2 separate regions of the Homo sapiens genome follow, and region 1 is linked to region 2. The links are contacts of gene promoters, found by promoter capture Hi-C in human tissues and cell types (Jung and others, 2019). All regions are on one chromosome and are shown on one strand. Each heading gives the region's core, a stretch centred on a gene start or on the middle of the fragment in contact. The rest is flanking DNA. Distances are from core to core; before and after follow the strand shown. Region 1 overlaps LOC102503427 (a long non-coding RNA gene). Region 2 holds the start of ZNF366 (zinc finger protein 366).

Region 1 (2,902 bases), core at 265-2,764, 56 kb before region 2:
CATCCCTTTGCTTTTTCTTCCAGATAGAATCGTCCAGAGGAAATGCCTTTTTACAGTCACAACTCTAAAAAGTTCAGTCTTTATTCAATATTTCTTCAGAGCTGCTATGTGTTGAATGCTAGCACTGAGATAGACGCTAGTGAGCAAGGAGAAAACAAGACAAATGGGATCCCCATGTTCCTGACATGTACAAGGATTTGTGTGTGTGTATGGTGTGTGTGTGTGTGTGTGTGTGTGTGTGTGTGTGTTTAGATGGCACGGCCTTGAAACAGGAAAGCAGAAAAATAAGTGAAATGATTATCAGACTATGTATTGTGATAAGAGCTATAAAGTAGACAAAGGGCTGAGATAGAGGAAATGGCAGAGCAATGATGTGTCCATCTGGGTGTGGGGAGGTGATTATGGCTTGGATCTGTTTTCCCACCCAAATCTCAGGTTGAATTGTAATCCCCAGTGCTGGAGGTGGGGCCTGGTGGGAGGTGACTGGACCATGGGGGTGGATTTCTCATGAATGATCTAGCACCATCCCCTTGGTACTGTCCTTATAATAGTGAGTTCTTATGAAATCTGGTGGTTTACAAACGTGTGGCACCTCCTTCCCCCCCACATCCTGCCCTCGCCATGTGATAATGCCTGCTTTTCCTTCACCTTCCACCATGATTGTAAGTTTCCTGAGGCTTCCCCAGAAGCCAAGCAGATGGCAGCATCATGCTTCCTGTACTGTCTGCAGAGCCCTAAGCCAATTTCACCTCTTTTTCTGTATAAATTGCCCACTCTTAGGCATTCCTTTATAGCAATGTGAGAGCAGATTAATATAGGAGAGGTGCAAGGTGAGTGGGTTGCTTTTGAGTTTGTAGCCAGAGAAGGCCTCTTTGCTAAGGAAAGCAGCTACACCAAGAGTGGAGACCTGATTGGGTGGGTGAGAGTGACCAGTGGAAGGAATTACTGCATCTTCATAGCAGCTGGGAAGATGGATGCACTAGTATCCTCTTCTCTACACACTAGAATACATGAAATTTTTATCTGTGAGATTAAGTTTAGCTATCAAAAAGAATGTCCTAAGCTCACATATATTCACATGTATGTGAATATATGAAGCATTGTCAAGTCTCCTTAAGGCCAGTCTGGAACTGCTCAGCAGGCCCCACCTTCTTTAGCACAGGCTCCAGAGGAAGTGGGCTCAGTGTGTTGCCTCTTTCAGTGGTGAAGGCAAGCCGGGATACTGTGTGCAAAGTTTGGGACTGAAAATAATCTCCACTTAAAAAAAATCCTTCCATCAGGAGGAGATCGAAGAATGAAAAATAGAATCAAATAATAATAATTGTTGTCGTTATTATTTTTATTAGATTATCTAATTTATGCCAGGCTCTTTCTAATTATTTTACAAGTTTATTTTAAGCCCTGACTCATCTGCATGAAGTAGGAATTATTGTTATCCCAATTTTACAGATAAAGACAATGAGGCCCAGAGAGCTCAAAGTGCTTGCCCAAGGTTCCAGAATGCATTCCCTTAACCTTAGGCAACACTGCTTTGGAGGGGTTAGTTTCATATGAGTTAGTTTCATATGAGTATTTTAGGTAGCACACATTAGGTAGCACAACATTAGAAAGTAAGAAGTTCTTTTCGGAGTTAAGAGAATGCCAGTTTTCCATTTGAGAGTGAGATTTCCCATCATCTCCAAATTAGAATCTCTGGGTGTAGAACTCAGGTATTTGCACTTTCTAAACACTGTTTGCACTTTCTAAACACTGTTTGCGAAGCATGGTTGTGTGGGCACTCACAAGTATGGAGCCAAGAGAGTAGACTCTGAATTCCTTCAAAAATAATAATACTAATAACAACAACAACAATAATAATAGTGATAATAATGCTATTTCTTGAGTGCCTTCTCTGGGTTAGACATTTAGCTGTTTCCATGTGTGATTATATTTAATGTTGACAACTCTACAAGAACTGTATGATTTTTTACCTTTTACAAATGAGGATAAATCTAAACTCAGAGAGATAAGTAACTTGCCTAAAGTCATATAGACAGAGAGTTGCAAATCTGATGTTCAAACCTCATCTGCCTGTTCATGTTCCACAACTTCATGTTTGTTATCTGCAATTCTATAGGCTCATTTTTAGATTACAGAGATCAACCTAAAATTTTTGATCTTGTCTCATCTCAAAACATAACCAAATGAACAAATGACATTTTTCCAGGTATATGGTCTTTGACAAGTTGCTTAGCCTCTCATTTTCTTACTTATAAGATGAAAATAGTAGTGCCTACCTCATGAGTTTGTTGTAAGGATTAAATGGGATACTCCATGTATAGCCTGGAAAGCACCTGGCATTTGGTAAGCACTCAATAGATGTAGCTGCTCTCACTAGTACCATGATTATACTGCCCAACTCTTCCTAAGTGAATTTATGCAATTGTTCCATAATTAGAATTTCTGTCCACCAATATTGATTGCTGGTTTCCTCTTGGCCATATTGAACTGACAAAGATCAACCTACTCCTTAATAAGCAAAAACAAAGAATCCTCAGACGTCTGTGACTATTCCTGTGTTCAAACTTCTTTCTCCCAACTGACTTCCAGGAAGATATGCCGCTTCGTCAGCTGAGCTCTAGTTGCCAATCTGCAAAGTCACTGTCTCCTTCCTACTATCTTCCCTTTATCGGGGAAACTTACACTTTTCACCCATCATTGACATCCTCTTCATTCAGTCACTCATTCATCCAGCAAATATTTATTGAAGACCTATTCTGTGTCAGGCACTCATTATTCCAGGCACCATAGATGCAGCAGTGAACAAAGATCTCTGCCTTTTTGAAGCTTACATTCTAATGGGAGCTGAGCAAGACAGACATAAACAAGTTGAGTATAACATATGTTAGCTGGTGATAAGTTC
Region 2 (3,169 bases), core at 372-2,871:
GAGGAAGGCCAGCAGAGGGCAAAGAGCCCGAGAGCCGGGATCAGGAGACAGGAACGTGTTGGCGTGTGGCTCTAAGCGAACCAAAGAGACTGTCTCTGGTCATCCGTGTTCCCCACTGTTGGTGAGGCTGGGTCACCCAGGCCAGAACTCAGTGCCATGGGTTGTGCCAGTGTTGGTGCTGTGGCGGATGCAAGGAATGGGACTCTGCTCTGGCTTGTGCACACCTACCGAGTAACAAAATCTTCATGTCTCTCTCTGATACATGCACACATATTCAGATAACTAGATAGACAGGGAGATAGATAGATATATGGATAGATTAGATAGATAGATGATAGATAGATAGATAGATAGATAGATGATAGATAGACAGATAGATGATAGAAAAATATCTGTCAGAATAAAAACATAATCCTATAGGCCAATAAGGACTCAATCAAAATCTTACAGGGTCACTGAATCAGAATCATTCTTCCCCTGAACTCACTTTCATGACTCTTTGCAATCAGGTGTATCTGTCCACCCCATTTTTTTCACAGTTGGGTGAAATGAGGAAGTAGTGTAAGGCTGGTTTTTCTTTTGCTGCCACAAAGGTCTACATAACTGCTGGTTCCTGTTCACAGTGAAAATGGTCCTAACCAGATGAATAAGGGACACAAGAGACATAACACAAATCAGAGAAGTTAAAACCAAGCTTATTCCTAAGTGCAACTAGCCTAAGCAAGCTCATGCCTGCCTGCTGAAGCCCCAAGTCTTCTACCTTGATAAAGGTTACTCCCTCCATTTTAACTGCTCCTGCCTCCCCTATCTTTTTTCGAACACCATGGCTGATTTATCTAAACCCTATGCTGCTTCACAGTATTTTGAAAACAAATTAGAAATCTCCTTCCAGTTTTCCAGAGGTGATTAAATCCAAGACGCCTTAGGAATGTAGAGGATAGAATAATATAAACAACAGATCTGAGATAACCATGGCCGGCAGCAGTTGTGGTTAGTTGCTTCTTTTCCTTTTTCATCCATCAGTGATGGAAGCTGGATTGGGTCCACTGTATAAAGTTCGGTGGGCATAAATCTGCTATTTGATCCTGGAAAAACTCTAAGGATCTAGAGTCAGCGAGGAATTGCAGCAATGCTGGTGTTTCAAAGGGCCTAAGAAAAGCCAGGAGTCCTGGCTGCCCAGCCCCGACACTGTCTTACAGGCTGCAGGTTTACCTTGGTTAGCACAACAGGCCAAGCTCTCCCTTGCTCTAAGTCGACATGACATGATTTGTTCCCTTTCGGCTGTGTCAGTTCTGCAAACCAGATACCAGAGGCTGCAGGCTCAGGAGAGCCTGCCTGTCTGGAACACCGTTTGTTTGGACAGGACAGGCCACTAAGGCGTTTCATCTCTTTAAAGCTCCCAGGGCAGAGAACATATTTGAGGAATTCCTTTTTTCAAAGATTTTTTTTTTTTGCCCCTTCCAACATTTTGTTTAAGAGAAAATGAGATGTCTATCTTCTGTTTCCTTATTTTTTTTCAGGAAAGCAAAGGGTTGTTGACTTCCTCCCTCTCCCCTCCCTTCCTTCCTTCTTCCCGAAGGTACTCATCTGAGAAAAAGAGAACGAAGTATTGTTCCTGTTCTCTTTCTTAAGTCATTCGAAACACTGTCCCTGCGAGTTCTTTAAGTTCCCTGCAATCTGTACACAAGAGAAAGAGGGAGAGAGAGAGGGAGAGAGACAGAGAGAGCAGGGATCAGGTAAAGGAGTGGGGCTGCTGCAGCCATTCAGACCTCAGGAGCTGGTAAGTTACCCATGCAATCATTTCTGCTTCCTTTTCAAGGTTCCTGGGTGGATACTGCTGTGGGCATCTTCAACAGAAAATACCTTACTGGGAGTAGTCCTTAACCAAAGGGTATAAGTGATAGATGGCCCAGAATTTCAGCTAATACTTTTTTTTGGTAAGAGAATACTGATGCTTTGCAGAACTAAGGCTGGCAAAACTAGAAATAGAATTACATTGGGACTAAAGAGGACACTGCGTTAAATCTGAATTTTGGCACAGATCATGTGGCTGGGAGAACCAGGAGCCACTGGCGTGTGAGATGTGTCCCACTGGAGAATTTGCTCTTCCTCAGTACTGTGTCCTGGGAGCCTTATCAGGGTGTCTGTTAAGGACTGTGGTTTGCTCTGGGGTTTTTGTTAATACGTTACCTGGATTGAGGTGCCCTTCTCCTGTTCTTTTCTTTCCATTCAGCATCCCCCTAAAGGAGGATTGTTAATTGTTATATGATGGTTATTCTGCATCACTGAAGTAGAAGGGAAAGAGAGAAGGGAATGTCACTTGGAAATAGTTCTGCATGTGGGGAGCTTATGTGTTCAGGTTCCCCATGCGGGTTGAGTGTAAATTTATTATTCACTGTCAGTGGAAGATGTCATCTGCCACATGATAGAAGGCAAAGGTTTTGGGGCATATAGCTTTAGTTTTGGAAAACAATATGCAGCTAGAATGGGAGGATTAAGATGGATCATTTATGTCAGTAGGAGGGAAAAACTAAGTTACAGACGCAATTGAAAAGCATTCACCCAGTGCCTGGTTTTCCAAGCACCAAATAGGGCGTAGCAAGCTAGTCAAGCTAACATACACAACTAGTTTTTAAAAGTCTAACTTGCTTCAATTAGATTAGTCATAAAGGATAATGTTACCAGCACCTATCATCGCAAGCCATGAGGGAGCCGAAATCATGTTGTCAAAAATAGGTCAGCAAGGTCACTCCGAGAGACTCGTTATGTTTCCCAATATTAATACTTTAATTCAGAGAGATGCCGAATGGGTAAAAGCCAATGGCCAAGCATACTTTTTAAAAATATTCACTGCTATGAAATTTACTGATTGAAATCACCTGGGATGTGAAGAATAAGATAAAAATAGCTGGACTCTCATTTTAAAAATTAATTTGGCTAGACTATGCTTTAACCACATTCAAGTAATTAATCTTTATTCAAAATTGAACCATCATCTTACTAAGGATGAGAAAACATGACAGAACTAGACTGTGATGTAGCTTTTGTTCCATTAGTCAGACCTCTTTTTTCTTCTCCTTTTTTCAAGGATTTTCTTTAGGAGCATCATAAAACGAGCAATGTAAAGAGACGTGAATAGCGTTTGCCAGCTTGCGGATGCAAAATTATT

What was found. Contacts are between HindIII fragments. The study calls those that stand out against the background at their distance.
Region 1: a contact is called between a fragment that was not itself captured here and the fragment with the promoter of ZNF366 in region 2, in 1 of the 25 tissues and cell types used here (hippocampus).

The regions. Positions count from the first base shown.
Region 1 is chr5:72,561,636-72,564,537 of GRCh38, reverse strand. All of the region lies in intron 1 of LOC102503427 (a long non-coding RNA gene), which reads right to left. Among named protein-coding and RNA genes, the nearest start is that of ZNF366, 56 kb to the right of the region's middle. The HindIII fragment of the contact is 5,034 bases long and covers 1-2,902 here.
Region 2 is chr5:72,505,862-72,509,030 of GRCh38, reverse strand. It overlaps ZNF366 (zinc finger protein 366), which reads left to right and starts at 1,621. Exons shown (of 5, transcript NM_152625.3): 1 at 1,621-1,780. The HindIII fragment of the contact is 10,357 bases long and covers 1-3,169 here.